Regions from separate parts of the Homo sapiens genome. Here region 2 is linked to region 1. The links are contacts of gene promoters, found by promoter capture Hi-C in blood cells and fetal thymus (Javierre and others, 2016). All regions are on one chromosome and are shown on one strand. Each heading gives the region's core, a stretch centred on a gene start or on the middle of the fragment in contact. The rest is flanking DNA. Distances are from core to core; before and after follow the strand shown. Region 1 holds the start of GAB2 (GRB2 associated binding protein 2). Region 2 overlaps NARS2 (asparaginyl-tRNA synthetase 2, mitochondrial).

The links. The method cuts DNA at HindIII sites, captures the fragments that hold promoters and counts their contacts. A CHiCAGO score of 5 or more calls a contact.
Region 2: a fragment that was not itself captured here is called in contact with the fragment with the promoter of GAB2 in region 1 in 2 of 17 cell types (total B cells and naive B cells); the score reaches 9.3 in total B cells.

The regions. Positions count from the first base shown.
Region 1 is chr11:78,416,287-78,420,180 of GRCh38, reverse strand. It overlaps GAB2 (GRB2 associated binding protein 2), which reads left to right and starts at 2,361. Exons shown (of 10, transcript NM_080491.3): 1 at 2,361-2,535. The coding sequence starts at 2,461. RefSeq lists silencers at 1,972-2,591, 2,702-2,801, 2,872-3,001, 3,464-3,758 and an enhancer at 2,621-3,375. The HindIII fragment of the contact is 5,597 bases long and covers 1-3,894 here.
Region 2 is chr11:78,473,144-78,476,706 of GRCh38, reverse strand. All of the region lies in intron 9 of NARS2 (asparaginyl-tRNA synthetase 2, mitochondrial), which reads left to right. It overlaps LOC105369403 (a long non-coding RNA gene), which reads right to left. Exons shown (of 2, transcript XR_007062798.1): 1 at 3,411-3,563. Among named protein-coding and RNA genes, the nearest start is that of LINC02728, 45 kb to the right of the region's middle. RefSeq lists an enhancer at 3,370-3,563. The HindIII fragment of the contact is 8,270 bases long and covers 1-3,563 here.

The DNA of each region.
Region 1 (3,894 bases), core at 1,112-3,611:
CTCACGCCTGTAATCCCAGCACTTTGGGAAGCCGAGGCAGGCGGATTACGAGGTCAGGAGATCGAGACCATCCTGGCTAACATGGTGAAACCCCGTCTCTACTAAAAAAAAATACAAAACATTAGCTGGGCGTGGTGACGGGCGCCTGTAGTACCAGCTACTAGGGAGGCTGAGGCAGGAGAATGGCGTGAACCTGGGAGGCGGAGCTGGCAGTGAGCGGAGATCACGCCACTGCACTCTAGCCTGGGCAACAGAGCGAGACTCCGTCTAAAAAAAAAAAAAAAAGCTCCTTTCTTTAACCTTTGGGGAAAGATGGGGGTGTTCAGAGAACCCTTCCCAAAGTCGATACCTGGTGACTGTTGTATTCATATTTCAAGGTCCCTCCTGCCATTGGCCAAACAAGAAACATCAAACTTTTCCATTTCCACATGAAATTGTAAATAACACCATCTTTTCCTAAGCAAACAAAATAAGACTTTAAGGAATTTCTGGCAGAATATGACCTAACCCCCACTAACTCTTGCTAAACAGTCTTCCAGTCTGTGTATTGAATCATGTAACTATCAAAGGATACGTAAGACTACTCTTCTGGGGGAAGATAGGGCATACGTATGCCTGACTTGCATCACAAACCTCAGCTGCAGCCAAACCATGCAGATTTCTCCGACTCTGCAATCTCTGGGACTTGGCACCATGACTCAGATGTGAATGAAGTCAGGATAGTTTTATTTTGGTTGGAAGTCACCGCCTCCTGATTGATTTGGCAGACGTTAAGTGTTGTTTGTCTTACAGGGATTTAAGGTACTTAAAGCCAGAAGTTAAAATGGCCATCATTCTGGTGGTGGCCCTTCATACGTGACTTAAGGATCCCTAAATTGTAAGGTTAAGGGAGCTGTGGTCCCAGCCTACCAGTTCTGGCTTTACTTCCCATCCAGCAGCACACTGGATATTGAAGAAAGTCAGTGAAATGTTAGATCCAGGGGACTGACCGCTAAAACTCCCAGGGTATCTAGAAGAGCTAAGTACGTGGTAGGGGATTCGCTTTTCCAAATTGAGGAGGGTGAACTTCCCCCAACCCAATCAAGATCTTTTGGACCAAATGATGTCCAACTGCTTGAAACAACTCAGCTGCACAGAGACAGAAATAAACAAAACAGCTTTAGTCTGAGGTTGTGTGGGGCACTGCAAGATGCTGCTTCTCCAATTCATCTGTCCACACAGCACGGTTCCCCATTGAATAAACAGGTTACTATCCACTTATCAGAGAAGTTAGGGAGGACCTGCCTTTTAATGCTGCTTAGAGAGACACTTTGTGATGAGAAAAGAGCTCGTACAAAAGATTTTTTTCTCCCCCCTCCCGCTGAAGTGCTGGGGTTGTGTGCTTCCACGTACATCTGGGATACCATTATATTTACAAACAGAGGTCTCATAGCCTGTGTCAATGAGCGGGAACGTTGGGGAATTTGGACCCCAATTTCTTGTTCTTCTGCACTTGACCTTGCCTTCCAATTCGTTATGAAATACATTGACTAGTTTTGCTTCTTCCATTCTACAAATCATGCGAATTTTCTATACTAAACTGTGTTTTCCCAGAGGCAGTGTAGGAGGGAGTCAGCTGGACTTGGTTTCCAGGCAATGAGAGGCTCCCAGGTCGATCCCATTAAGGCAATGCCCTCATTTTGAATAGCAGATGACCGGGACCCCTCCTCCCCCACACACCTGAATTGGAAAATTGGCTCGGCTTTGTACAAGCCCTTGCCCTTAGGCTGTCCATAAAATAGGAACAATACTGAAGACAATCCTGTAAGCTACAAAAGCAAAGGCTCCGGCGCGTAGTAGGTCCGTCTCCTCCTCCCGCCGAGGGACGCCAGAGTTAAGGAGCTTCTTGCTGGGAAGGGGTCCCTCCTTTCAGCCGGAACCTGACCCGCAGAATGTATCGGAAATGTGAGCAGCCCTAGTATCCCTTCCCCGTCGACGCTCGGTGAAAAATCGATCGACGACCGAGGGCGCGCAGTCCCTTCCCCTCACACCCGCCAGCGCCAGGGGCGCGGTCGCCTCCCTGGCCTCCGCGCCCGCGGCTTGGGGCCTCAGGAGAAAGCGAGACTCCGGGGCGCGCCGGCGGCGGTGGCTTTCTGTATCCTCGCGGGTCCCTAGCCCCGCGTCCGCGTGCGCGGCGGCCTCGGGGGCGCGGCGGGAGCGGGCGTGGCGAGCGAGCCGGCCTTCCTGCTGCAGCTGCTCCCCCGGCGGCCGGGCGGAGAGTGCGGATTGCGCGCGCTCGGGGCGGGGGAGCGGGCGCGCGCGAGGCTGCCGGGCTCGCGCCGCGCCGCGCCGCCTAGTCCCCGCCGGGCCGCCCGCCCCGCCCCTGGCCTCCCGCGAGCTGCGCACCGCCGGCCGCTGCCCCAGCTGCCCGAGCCCGCGCCCTCGTCCGCGCGACCCGGCGGGGGGCTCCAGGCCGGCAGCATGAGCGGCGGCGGCGACGTGGTGTGCACCGGCTGGCTGAGGAAATCGCCTCCCGAGAAGAAGTTGAGGCGCTATGTGAGTGCGGGCGCGGCCGCCCAGGGGCGGGCGGGGGGCGCTCCGGGGCCTGCGGAGGGGCGGGGGACTCCCGGAGGGGCGGCAGGCTGGGGAGCTCGGGCCCGGAGCCGCGGGGGGCCGGGGGCGAGGAGCGGCCGGGGGCGTGTGGGGCACCTGCACACCTGTCACAGGTGGGCCGCCGAGGGGCGGGGCGGGCGGCAGGTTGAGGCTGCGGCTCCTGCTCCGCCAGGCGGGTGCGGCTGCGGCGCCTCCCAAGCCGGTCTGCTCGTGAACTAAATACAGTGTCGAAGTTTTGTATTGATGGCTTCTGGAGACCGAGAGAGTTGACTCTCGGGGCTGGGGCTCCGCGGCAGCCCCGAGCAGCTTCAGCCCGCAGGGTCGGGGAGAGGGCGGGAAAGGGGGGCGTAGGCTGTGGGGCCGCGCGGACGGCCCCACAAAGGGCGAGCGCCTCACGCCCTCTCCTTCCCTTTCTCCGCCTGCCCCTCCCGGCCGCCGGCCTCCCTCCGTCCGCGGCTGCATCACCGGCAGCGTCAGCGGCATGTGCAGCCCTTGTATTAAGTGACTCATTTGTTTGTCCCCCTTCTTTCCCTTTATTCCGTTCGTCTCTCACAGGCGCCTCCCCCCGACCCCGGTGTGACACTGCAGTTTGGTCCCCGTGGCTGGCCCGGGTTTGGGACCGGGCAGCTCCCGGGTGTCTGGGGTCGGGAGAGATCGAGGCTCTCCGCGGCCAGGTGTTGCCAACCGACAGTGTTTACTGAGATCGCTGGAACAGCCTTTTCCCTCTAGGTGGGGAACTGGCAGCCTGGGGGAGGTGGAACAGCGTGGCGCTGAGCCGTGGAGTTCTGGCTTTTTTTTTTTTTTTTTTTAACCCCTCTCCCCAGAGGATGCCTTGCCTGGTGAGGTCAAAGTACAAGATGGTGCCAGTTACTGAGATTTGGCCGAAATGGTCTTGGGGTAGTCGCGGGAGTTTGGAAGTGGGGGTAAGGTTGCTGGAAGGTTTCAAGGTCTCTCATCTGCTCCCTCTCCGTTTCCCATGAAATGCCCTTGTTTAACGGGCTGTGGTGCCGAACTCCGGGATCACTCCCACAGCCTGGAAGGGAGCCGTTGCCTCCAGCTGCAGTGCATCAAGGGAGCTCGGAATAGACCCTGCCCTCTGTCAGCTGCACCAGTGGCTGTCCATGGGGGGAGAGGCAGAAGCCTACCAGAATTTCCTGTCTTGGCTCCCCAGATCAGAATCAAGGGACTTCTGGCCTCTGGACTGAGGAAGTGACATTCTGTTTTTCAAAGGAAGTGTTGTTGTTGCGGAGTACAAGTGTGTGTCAATGAAATCAGGCTCTTAGGTAGATGTTTGCTGGGGGA
Region 2 (3,563 bases), core at 26-2,525, 58 kb before region 1:
TCCATTCTGCATACTACAAATCATAGTTGCAGTTTAAATTTGTGGGGAGAGGGACATCAGCAAGATGATGAATAGAGGGTCCCAGCCTTCACCACAGAAAGTCCATTTGGCAACTAGTCACATACAAGAACACCTTTTTGAAAATCCCAAAATTTGGGAATGAAATTGAGACACGCAGATGGACCACAGAGCAAAAAGTGCATTAGAAGGGTAGGAGCAATGGTCTCAGTTTGACTGAATCCTCCCTTCCCTAAGTAGGCACAATACCACACACAGAAGATTCCCCTTGGCACACAGTTAATGCAGTGGAAAAAGAGACAGCTATCCAGTTTCCCCAGCATTCTGTGATGCTTCCTAGGAGGCCCATTCCTGTCTCACAGGGAACCCTGGGGGTAAGGCCTAGACTACCAGGGGTCAAGTAGGAACAAAGGAGTGGGGCAGTGCTCACAGCAACCAGTACACGGATCTTAGTCATAGCTGTGTTCCTGCCAGCAGTAGCACCTGATCAGAGATACCAGCCAGTGGCATAGCCCATTTACAAAGCCTAGCTGGTTGCTGCAGAAGCTCAGTAGGAAAGTCTATCTGGTTTGAGCCCCTACAGGGCAGCCACCCCACCTAGCCTCAGCATCCACCCCCATGCTTTGCTCAGGCAGGCAGACATCACAAATGTTTTACATTTGTGTAAGATACAGATGGCCAATAGGTTTATCAAAAAGTGTCCAACATCACTAATCAATAAAATGCAAATTAAAACCGCACTGAGATAACCACTCACACCTGTTAGAATGGCTGTTATCAAAAAGTAGAATGAGACACGTTGGCTCATGCCTGTAGTCTCAGCACTTTGGGAGGCTGAGGTGGGAGGATCACTTGAACCCAGGAGTTCAGGACCACCCTGGCCAACTTAGTGAGACCCTGTCTCTACAAAAAATAAATAAATAAATTAGTCAGGTGTGGTGACATGTGCCTGTAGTGCCAGCTACTCAGGAGACTAAGGTGGGAGGATTGCCTAAGCCCAGGAGGTTGAGTTTTCAGTGAGCTATGATCACAGACGCTGCTGCACTCCAGCCTGGGAGACAGAGCAAGACCTTGTCTCAAAAAAAAAAAAAAAAAAAAAAAAAAAAAAGTCAAATGATAACAGGTGTTGGCAAAGATGTGGCGCTTGGGAACCCTTTTATAACTGTTAGTGGCAATGTAAATTAGTAGAGCTATTATGGAGGATAGTATGGGAGGTTTCTCAAAAAACCAAAAGTATATTTACCATATGATTCAGCCATCCTACCTCTGGGTACATATGCAGAACTGAAGTCAGTATGTCAAAGAGATATCTGCACTTACATGTTCTTTGCAGCACTATTCATAGTAGCCAAGATATGGAATCAACCTAAGTGTCCATCAGTAGGTGACTGGATAAAGTAAATGTGTATATATATACACAGTGGAATACTATTCAAAGGAAATCTTATTTGTGACAGCATGGATCAACCTGGAAGACTTAATGCTAAGTGAAAGAAGCTAGGCACAGAAAGACAAATACTGCATGATTCACTTTGATGTGAAATGTAATAAAGTTAACACTACAGAAGTAGTGAGTAGAATGGTAGTTACCAGTGGCCGGTGAGGGGTTCTTGAAGGGAATGGAAAGAAATTGTCCAAGGGGTACAAAGTTTCAGTTAGACCAGAGGAATAAGTGTTCAGGATTTATTGCATAACAAAGTGACCATAATTAATTGTAATGTATATCTCAAAATTGCTAAAGGAGTAGATTTTAAATCTTCTCACTGCAAAAAAAAAAGTGAAGCATGTGAGACGATAGATATGTTAATTACCTTGATATATTCATCCCACAGTGTATAATACCAAAAACACATTGTATCCTGTAAATACATAAAATATTTGTCAATTAAAAATTCAGACATTTTTAAATAAATGTATATGTGTGATTATTTGATTGGTATCTACTACCTCTGTGATGTCAGAGGCTATGTTTAAATTGCTTACTCTTATACCCCCAGGACTTAGCCCAGTGCCTTTAACAGGAACTCAGTAAATACTGAGTAATTGAGTGGACAAACAAGTGACTTGAGTAACTGTGGCTGTAAAGGTATTCTTTAGGCTGGATCCTCTCCTGAGGTTTCTTATTGGCTAATATCACTATTTATTTCAGTCACTGAGGGTAGTGAACCATGATTCAGAAAACCTGGATTCTAATCCTGGCCCTACCATTTACTAGCCATTAATGAGTAAATTATTATTTTTTAACAAATATTTATTGACTGCCTAATATGAGTTAGGCACTTTGCTAGTTCTTGAGAATAATGAAAACAAACATTGATTTATTTTTTTATGGAGTTGAAAATCTAGAGAAAAAGATGAACAGTTAAATATTTATATGAATAATGTAATTACGACTATGAACTTGATTAATAGTGAATCTTTAACTTTTCTGAACTTCAGTTTCCTCATCTATAAAAAAATACTCTGCCTTATATTGTTGAAAGGATTTAATGACAATACTGTTAAAAGCAATATGTCAGACTAGGTAATTTGAAAACACTCTTTCTGCAAAACATCTAAAAATAATACTTAAAATATTATAAGATTCTTTTAAATACGTTGTTGAATTCACTAGAAAGTAGGAGAAGTTCCAGGTGCTAGAAATGAAGAAGGAACCAAACACCAGAGTGATATGGACAGTTGGTGTGATGCTGAGGATTCTCAGGGTGTAGGGTAGGGAAGCTGGAGGGCGATTTTCCAGTTTTTGAAACCAGAGATTTTAACAGCAATGAGATGACATGAGAATAGACGTAGCAGAATGAATTAGAATCAAGATATCCCCTGAAATGCATGCACAGATATACACACAAAGCTAGAACTGGTCAAGGACTACACCCTTAATGAAAGGGCCAATTAGAAAATAAGCAAACAAACAGAAAATTGAGCTAGCCAGCATAGAGAATTTACAAAGAAGTGTAGAAGTATATCTGCTTTAGCCTGGGCTTAAGGATAGAGACAAAACAGAAATAGTCTTCATTGAGAATTTGCAGCCACAGTTGGCCCTTAAGTGAGCCTAGAGTTTGAATTTATGTTTCCTGTGTAGTTCAAGAATCTTCATGCCAGGGCATTAAAATAAAAAATTGTCTTCAGTTGGTGATAATGCTGGAGTAGCTATAGAAATCAATATAAAACCAAACTTGAAGTTTGTACCCTCAACCCAAGTGGCATGATATTCTCAAAACAAACTCTACTGAAGATAATCTCACACTCCAAATACACAGGGAAATACCTACCATGAGCAAGAACAGCAGACATAACAAACAGCATTAGATTCCCAAGAAGTTCAAAGAACAGTAATGACAATAGATTGATAAAATAGTATCTTCACATAGTTGAAAGAAAATACCTGTTACCTTAGAACTGAAATACTGGGCAGCAATAACTTGTAAAACTGGAGAGGCACGTTGATAGTTGAAATGTTAGTCCTTTTGTTGTTTGAAAGGAAGAGAGAGAAACTGGTGAACTTTAGACTTTTTGTTTTTAAGAGACAGGACCTTGCTGTGTTT